Regions from separate parts of the Homo sapiens genome. Here all the other regions are linked to region 2. The links are contacts of gene promoters, found by promoter capture Hi-C in blood cells and fetal thymus (Javierre and others, 2016). All regions are on one chromosome and are shown on one strand. Each heading gives the region's core, a stretch centred on a gene start or on the middle of the fragment in contact. The rest is flanking DNA. Distances are from core to core; before and after follow the strand shown.

Region 1 (2,865 bases), core at 344-2,843, 540 kb before region 2:
CCAGATACCTGGGCTGAGCCATACTTCCGTTCCGGAGAGCACCTCCACTGCCCTCACCAGCTCCCCTGCATGATCCCAGGGTTGCCCTGTGACCACTGGGCATGGGCCATGGCCACCAACCCGCTCCCAGCCAACCAAGGAGGGTAGCCTGGAAGCTATGCACCGTTGCAGACCTGGCAGTCACATAGCCTGCCTCTGGGCGTGGTGGGCACCCACTGAGGAGCCCTCCCCAAGTGTGCACTAAAAATCACAGCCTGGGGACCTGGGCCATGAGCTTTCACTGGTGGGACCCCATTCATATCCCACACCTCTCAAACACAGAGCTGGGCCACACTCGGCCAATCAAGGGCCACATGGTATCTTCTCGTTTCCTTGGGCCCAAGATCCCGAGACCCTGGAGGTGACCCCTTGGCTAAGAAGGCGGGGTGGCAAATTCCCGGTACAACACCCTAGACAGTGGACCTTCCCACCTCAGAATGCCACTGTTACTGCCACTCAAACATGGAGAACAGGTGACCCCCATGGGACATGGGATGCCCCCTTAGCCCAAAGCCCATGGGTCACAGGACTGGCCTGAAGCACCACCAGGAGCTGGCCAGATCTCAACCTTGACCCAACCCCATTGAAACTGCACCACCCCTGACCAGGCTCAATACGTGCCACTGGGATGGCCCATTGTTCAACAGGATCAGCCCCATTCAGGGTCACAGGTGGGATGAGATCCTTGAACCTCCATGGCCCGACCCCATCACCACCCCCCCCAGGAACATGCCCGGGGACCGAGAGCTCCCAAGTGAAACCCGTGGCACCCTGGAGCCCTTCTGGCCCGCCTCATGTGGCCTGGGCAGTCCTCAAGGCCTGACCTGCACACCAAGTCTCAACTGGGCGATGTCCTGCATGGGGCTGAAGGAACCCTTTGCTATCTGGACCATTGTCATTCCTGCAGATCTTCAGGGAAGGCATCCTCCTCAGGTAAGATTCCCAAGGAAGCCGCCCTCCTGGAGAAACCATCCCTCCCTGATGGGAATTGGGGTCAGCTCCCTGAGGAAACCCTCATGGCCTGAAGTCTGACCCTCAGTGAACCCATGCCCATGATGCCAGCAGGATCCACTCACCTATGTTGGTCAATGCCAGGAGGCCCCCCCTTGGCAGAAGAGCTCACTGAAAGACACAAGGGGAGAACTGGGGCTCAGGGAGGAGCCACCCACGTGCCACTTCACTGGGGAACAGAAAGGCCAACACCAAGCCCGCACAGGGAGCCTGGGCTGCCTCACAGAGGAGTGCAGAGACAGAGTTGGGCCTCCTCCAGATACCTTTCAGGGCCTCCAGGGCTCCAGCCCAAAATACAGTGGCCCTGCCGGAAATCTCGGGATCCCAGCATCCTCCTCCAAATTTCTCACCTAGGTTGGGCCTCAGCGTAATCATTGAGCATGGTAATTTTAAGTCATCACCTCTCTTCAACACAATATAGGGTTCTCATCATTGACCCAACCCAGGGCACCCCCCCTGCCCACACATACATCCAGCGGGACCCGGATGTGCTCACCACAGCTCAGTGCAGGAGATCAAGGGGCCAGGAAGGGCCTGAGCTTCAGTGCACCAGGGGCTGAGCACCTGGCTGACGGACACTTGCCAGGGTCCATTGGTCCTGATGCAAGTCTTCCTTCAGGCTCACCATCTGGATGGACAGGAGGAGGACATGTGTCCAAACAGGGCCTCATACCTCCAGGTGGGGAATGGGGTAAGGGATACCCATGTGATGGGATCCATGTGGAACACTGACCTGTCACGGATACAGGGCACTCTCGGCCCTCCCCATCACCAAACCCTGAAAAAACAGGGCAGGTGGATCACTGGGCTTGGGCAAGACCCCTGGTCTTCATGCTATTGCAGACCTTGAGGGCACATCCAGTGCCCCCTCTGACTTCTCCTTCACACGATCCCAGGGCTGCCCCAGGACCACTGAGCATGGGACAGGGTCACCGACATGCTCATGGCCAACCGAGGAGCCTGGCCCAGAAGCCATGTGCCACCGTGGACATGGAAGTTGCATAGCCTGCCGCTGGGCATGGTGGGCACCTGCCCAGGCACTCTCTCCAAGCCACACCTGAAATCACAGCCTGGAGTACCAGGGCCATGTGCTTTCTCTGGTGGGTCCCCATCCATGCCCCACACATGTCCCAAACACAGATCCGGGCCACCCTTGGCCAATCCTGGGCCACATGGTGTCCTTTCCTTTCCCTAGGCCCAAGACCCTGCCACCCTGGACATGACCCCATGGCACAGAGAGTCTGGGCAGCAAATTCTCAGGATAGGACCATCAACAGCGGGCCTTCCCACCGCACATTCCACTCTTCCAGCCACTCACCCATGGGGAAGGGGTGACCTCCAGCAGGACACAAGCTGTCGACTTGGCCTAAAGCTCACGAGTCCCAGGTCCGGCCCACAGCCTCACCAGGCACTGGCCAGAGCTCAGCCTTGACCCAAACCCAGGGAAACAGCACTGCCCCCCACCAAGCTCAAAGAGGCACCATGGGATGGTCCATAGCTCAACAGGGTCAGTCCCATTTTGGGACATAGTTGGGTACAATCCTTGAATCTCCACGGCCCAATCCCATAGGCTCATTCAAGCACCCCTCTCCAGGGAAAGAGAACTCTTGCATGACCCCCGTGGTGCCCCGGAGGCCCTGTGGCCCCCATCATGTGGCCTCGGCAATCCTCGAGGCCTGACACATGCACTGAGTCTCAGCTGGGAGCTCTCCTGCACGGGGCTGAAGGAAGTCTTTGCTGCCTGGACCACTGTCATCCCTGCAGGGCTTCAGGAAGGCAACATCTTGGGTCCAGTTCCCAAGGAAGCCGCCCTCC
Region 2 (2,720 bases), core at 155-2,654:
GAGGGGTCCAGTAGCCAGGTCAGCCAAGTCAGGGATGGGCAAAGGAGCTGAGACCTGGGAAGTGTAAGTGGTCAGGGGCAGGGAGTCTGTGGTCTGCACAGGTTGGGAGAAAGAAGGGGCAGGCTGGGTGATGCTGCTGTTTGTCATGGTCTCTGTTTTATCCTCCAAGATTCTGCTATTCCTTTTATACTCAGGGCTCTTCTCCAAGGTGTGTAGGTCTCCCTCAACAGACAGGCAGGGGAGCTTAGCAGGTGGGGGAAGCTCACCTCGATCCCACAGCAATGGCAGTGAAGGGGGCAGCGGCAGCAGCAATGGAATCGACATTTTCCTTTTGCAGGGCCTGTTGCGGGCAGCTCTGGGAGGAGCAGCGCTCCTTGGAGGAATACAGAAAGGCTTCTCATCAGGCATCCTCTTTCCGGACATCAGCGGAATCGGCAAGCCTAGGGAGCTGGGCGGTGGCTCTTCATTCAGCACTTCCGCAGCCAACTTCTGCTGCAGCAGGGAGCAGCCAACGGCTGGCTCAGGGGGCGCTGTTGCATCCGGATCAGGCTTTCCAAGATGCCGGGCACATCCGGCCTGGCTGTGTGTGCTGGGCATGGCAGGGCCTTCCAAGCAGGAGCTCGCTGGAGACGCCTGGGCCTTCTCACTCATGCTGTTTTCTGAGAACTTGTGGTAGACATTTCCCTCCAGAGGCCCAGGGCTGCATCTGAAGGAGGCCACGTCTCCCTGGGTGCCCTGGGACCTGGATGTGGACGATGCTTCTCCGCTGCTAAGGGGGGTCCTTTTCTCGTCATCCTCCCCTTCGATCTGCACCGGATCCTCATCCTTCTTCACTCTTCTGGGCCCTTCTTGGGCCCACACCTCGGTCTCCTCCAGGAGAGTGGCTGGGATGGGCTTCCTGGCCTTGACCGCCGGCTCACGTGGTGAAGGCAGCAGGAGAGTGAACATGCGGCTGGGAGGAGGGATCCTTACGGAACTGGGGTGTCCAAACCTCGGGGGGTTCCGAGCAGGCAGCATGGGTGTCTTCCTGATGGCCAGCCCCCAACCCACAGCCGGCAGGACCCCCAGAGGGGCGGCCGCAGCCCGAGGGAGAGGACACGGCCTCTTAGGGGCGACGAAGATGCTGGCTGCTGAAGGCCTGCGACGGGCGTTCCGGCGGAACAGGCCGCGGAAAGGGCGCGGGGTGGGTACAGAGTGAGCCCGACCGGGCGGGGAGGCGTCCCGGGACAGGGGAGCGGGGGCGCCACGCCCTGGCCCTGGCAGGGGCCGGCGGCGGCACCCGGGTCTAAATTTACTAAGTAAATTGCCCATTTAGAGCTAGCCGTGCCTCCTACCGTAAAACAGGGTCAGCAGTGGACTCAACTCTCCTCAGCCACCGCCTCCTCTGGCGACCAAGCACAAACTGACTGGCTCTACGCCTGCGACGCCGCCGCGAGGTTCCTCACAGAACCAGGGAGCGCCAGCGGGGGCGCAAAAGGCAGGGGTCAGAGGGCAAAGGGCGACGCCCCGTCGGCCCCAGCTGCCCCAGGACCCCCGGAAGCCCCGCTGCCGGTGGCAGGTGTTGCACCGCGTGGCCTCTATGAGGGAACTGCTGGGGCCTGCGGGCCCATCGCCAGAGCTCTTGTCACCTGGGCGCCGGCTCTGCCTGTTCCTTAGCCCTGGCCCGGCGCTGTTGCACGCAGTGGCCCTGTGTCGGCCGTCCCCATTCCCCGGTTCACAGAGGGCACATCTGCTTCAAGTTAAGCACAGGACAACCTATATCCTGCCAGCCTCCTCTAGGACCTTGGCAGTGCTCTGTGCTGCCTGGAGCCAGGTGTGCCGTCTCTGTGGCGCCAGGGTCACCAGCCAGGCCGTGAGGGTTTCCGAGGAGGGGACGTGGTGCCTTGTCCTGACTAGATGCTACGCCCTACCACATCTCTTCCTGGCAGGCAGGGCCTCTTCACTTCTTTTCACAAATTTGTTTTAAACAACATTTAAGGCTGGGCGCGGTGGCTCACGCCTTTAATCCCAGCACTTTGGGAGGCCAAGGCGGGTGGATCACCTGAGGTCAGGAGTTCGAGACCAGCCTGACCACCATGGTGAAACCCCATCTCTACTAAAAATACAAAAATTAACTGAGCGTGGTGGCACGCACTTGTAATCCCAGCTACTAGGGAGGCTGAGGCAGGAGAATCGCTTGAAAGCGGGAGGTGGAGGTTGCAGTGAGCTGAGATCACCTCACTGCACTCCAGCCTGGGGGAACAGAGCAAAACTCTTGTCTCAAACAAAAACAAAAACAAAAAACCACAACAAACAACAGCAACAACATTTAAGCCTTAGGCTGCTTGCTCCTTGGGTCATTGATATGACAGTGGCCTAGCCAGGCTTCGAACCTGGGCTGTGTGATTCCAGAGCTGGTGCCGTGGCCTGTGTGCCTCCTTGTTATGGACACATCATGTATTCTCATTATTTCCTGTAGTCCTTAGGGTACCTAGCACACAGCACATCTGTATTAAGCACATGCGTTCCTAGGGGGAAGCCCTTACTTCACCTCATAAGTTGGTCATGGCAGGCACTGGGCTCCAGTCTCCTCTGAAGACATGGGGCAGCGACCCCCAATAGTCAGCAAAGCAGCATCCCACACTGTTCTTCTAATTGAGCCTTGCAGCCCAGATTTCCTTTTTGGTCTAGTTTGAAGGATCTAAATATGTAAAGATTATAGTCCAGATCCATTTTGGCCT
Region 3 (2,700 bases), core at 32-2,531, 830 kb before region 2:
AAATAAGGGAATAAAAGTTGGCAACCCGAGCCAGCAGCAGCAAGTGGGTTGGGTTAGTTTCCACAGTGTGGAAGCTTTGATTTTTCGCTATTTGCAATAGATTTTGCTGTTGCTCGCTTTGTGGGTCCACAATACGTTAAGAGCTGTAACATTCCCTTGGAAGGTCTGCAGCTGGCTTTGCTCTTGAAGCCGGTGAGACCACGAGTCCACCAGAATGAACGACTCCGTAGGCGCCACCTTTAAGAGCGTTAACACTCACTGTGAAGGTTTGTGGCATCGCTCCTGAAGTCAGTGAGACGACGAACCCAGCAGAAGGAAGAAACTTTGGACACATCTGAGCATGTGGTGGTACAAACTCTTGACACACCATGTTTAAGAACTGTAACACTCACCATGAGGGTAGGGGGCTTCGTTCTTAAAAGTCAGCGACATCAAGAACCCACCGGAAGGAACCAATGCTTGGACACAGTAATTCATGCACAGGGTTTAAGGCTTTTGCTGCCAGAAGTGCTTGGCTCTGTGTGTGTGTGTGTGTGTGTGTGTGTGTGTGTGTGTGTGTGTATTGGTCTAGGACACACACAAAGTGTGTGCTGCCTAGTTCAGCTTCATGTGTTTCCTACCTCAGAGAAGAGATGGTTTTTCTAAGACCGGTTCTTGGAATTTTGTAATGCGGAATCGGCAGGTGCGCAGAGACATCCGAGACTGAGGGCTGGAGGAGGAGGGGAGGACTAAGAAAAAAGCCCAATGGGAGTGGAGAGGGAACAGTCCCTCCACAAAGAAAGAGTGGGAGGGGTGAGGAGAGAGGATGCTGACAATCAGAGCCCAAGAAAAGCAGAAAAATAAGAACCCAGGAGCGGGAGAGAAGGGAGTCAGATAAAATGGGTTTCCCATAACCTGTAGATTGGTTCTTATGTGCTTTTAGACTGGCATTTCTTAAATTCGTATTTGCTGTTATGTCTGCTGTTCTTGACTATGACTCCTTAGAGCTGCGTGGGTCTTCAGCTCAGAAGATTTTCTCAGTCCTAGTCCTGCTCTTGCCTTACAGCTGACGAAATGCCAGCTCAGAGAAATAAAATCAGTGGCCTCAGTATGCACCACAATTTAGAGCTGAACTTTGATTCCTCTGCCTATATTAGTCCAATGTAGACTCTACTACCCATGCTAAAAATATGCTTGTTCCTAAACATGCTCCCAGCCACATCCCTCCCTACCCCGACATGCCTCCTTATGCTGTAAGTTTTACTGGAAAGATAAAAAACCATATACACACTCTTCAGTAGAGAGCATTTACATGTCTGAAGAGAAAGTGCCCCACAACAATAGAAAACGTTCCCAAAATGAACTCAGTTCTGGGGCTGGAAGCTGGGATGCATGCAGCTACAGCAAAGGCCTTACCTTGAGGAGACACTCAAGGTAAGTGTCTCCTTACCTTGAGGAGACACTTGTGAAGTTAGAAGGGACAGACATTGTTTAAAGGGCACACGTGTCTGAGCAGGACTCACATTCCATCCAACAGATGGCAGTAGCCACATATTTTTTTAAATAAGCACATAGAAGTCCAACGTTCAGAAGAAAAAAGAACCAGTGAAATGAGATGTAAAATCTTTCTGTCCTCATCAAAAACCAAGTTTTCATTCCGTTTGAATTAACATGAAATTCAAACAACAACAAAACCCATCTACCTAAGCACTGGTAGATAAAATCAACTAACAGCCCTCTAATGACATGTTACTGATTACAAATTATAACTATTTTTGTGTCTTGTTATTAGAAAGATGAAAGAGGGTTAATAATTGCTGTAATATGTTGGGTTTAGCTAACTTAAGTGAGTGGTTGAATATGGTTTCCATTTTCCACATACCAGCATTCTTGAAGTAAAAAATAACGGAACCTCTTGGTTGCTAACAATCTTTTATCCACCACCTAATTCTTAGAATTCTTTACACTTCTGAACATGACTTCCATTCTAGTTTTCAAATTGAGAAAGCACCTATATTAAAAAGCACTGGTTCTCTCCCCATTTGGGATTACACTTAAATGTATAAGGTAGAGAAAAGTCTAATAGAGAACATAATTGATGTCAGTTGTAATTGTATTCTGATGTCAAATACATAGTAAAATATGAGCTTATTTTTGTGGCACTGCATTAAAAATACATTTCTTGAGCTCCTTTTTTGGTTCATTCTATTTTTATCCCCCGTTTTTTCCTTGGCACTTCCTATCCATGATTTTCTGCATATCTAATATCGCGCAGAGGAAAAAGCACTGCCTGGACCTGTCCACCAGCAAGCGGACATTGCTTTGCATAAACAGGCAGAGGGGCAGGCACCTCAAGGGACTCGCAGAAGTGCCTGGGTATTTTTAAATACTTGAGGAGAACACAAGGATGCCTGTCGGACATCTCAGGAACTGCTAGCTCCAGGTAAATTGGTTTTAACATTAGGTTGCTAAATTTCCTTCCATGATGTCATATCTTTGCAAAGCTTGGTTTTTGGTGACTGTTGTGATAGTTGTGGGGGAAAAAGTGATATGTCCTATCTAATTCCAAGGTTTTACATATTGCTAGTGCCCAACTGATGCACCTACATATCATTAGTAAATAATTGTGGTTATTTAATATTACAATAAAATATGATTTATTTTCTTCCAATTTGTACATATTATTTTTTACCCAGCTCCTAAGTTGTTAGGACATAAATA

Evidence for each region. The method cuts DNA at HindIII sites, captures the fragments that hold promoters and counts their contacts. A CHiCAGO score of 5 or more calls a contact.
Region 1: the fragment with the promoter of PWAR4 here is called in contact with the fragment with the promoter of NPAP1 in region 2 in 6 of 17 cell types (total B cells, activated CD4 T cells, naive B cells and 3 more); the score reaches 6.5 in total B cells.
Region 3: a contact is called between a fragment that was not itself captured here and the fragment with the promoter of NPAP1 in region 2, in 1 of 17 cell types (M2 macrophages). The highest score is 5.1, in M2 macrophages.

What each region holds. Positions count from the first base shown.
Region 1 is chr15:25,210,420-25,213,284 of GRCh38, reverse strand. It overlaps PWAR4 (Prader Willi/Angelman region RNA 4), which reads right to left and starts at 1,593. Exons shown (of 1, transcript NR_022010.1): 1 at 1,252-1,593. It overlaps SNHG14 (small nucleolar RNA host gene 14), which reads right to left. Exons shown (of 148, transcript NR_146177.1): 102 at 1,547-1,678; 103 at 1,116-1,161. SNORD115-23 (small nucleolar RNA, C/D box 115-23) reads right to left here and starts at 1,489; the gene lies at 1,408-1,489. The HindIII fragment of the contact is 4,906 bases long and covers 1-2,865 here.
Region 2 is chr15:24,674,459-24,677,178 of GRCh38, reverse strand. It overlaps NPAP1 (nuclear pore associated protein 1), which reads right to left and starts at 1,404. Exons shown (of 1, transcript NM_018958.3): 1 at 1-1,404. The coding sequence starts at 1,311. The HindIII fragment of the contact is 3,995 bases long and covers 1-2,720 here.
Region 3 is chr15:25,500,807-25,503,506 of GRCh38, reverse strand. It overlaps LINC02250 (long intergenic non-protein coding RNA 2250), which reads left to right. Exons shown (of 5, transcript NR_187215.1): 4 at 2,255-2,422. Among named protein-coding and RNA genes, the nearest start is that of UBE3A, 63 kb to the right of the region's middle. The HindIII fragment of the contact is 2,409 bases long and covers 77-2,485 here.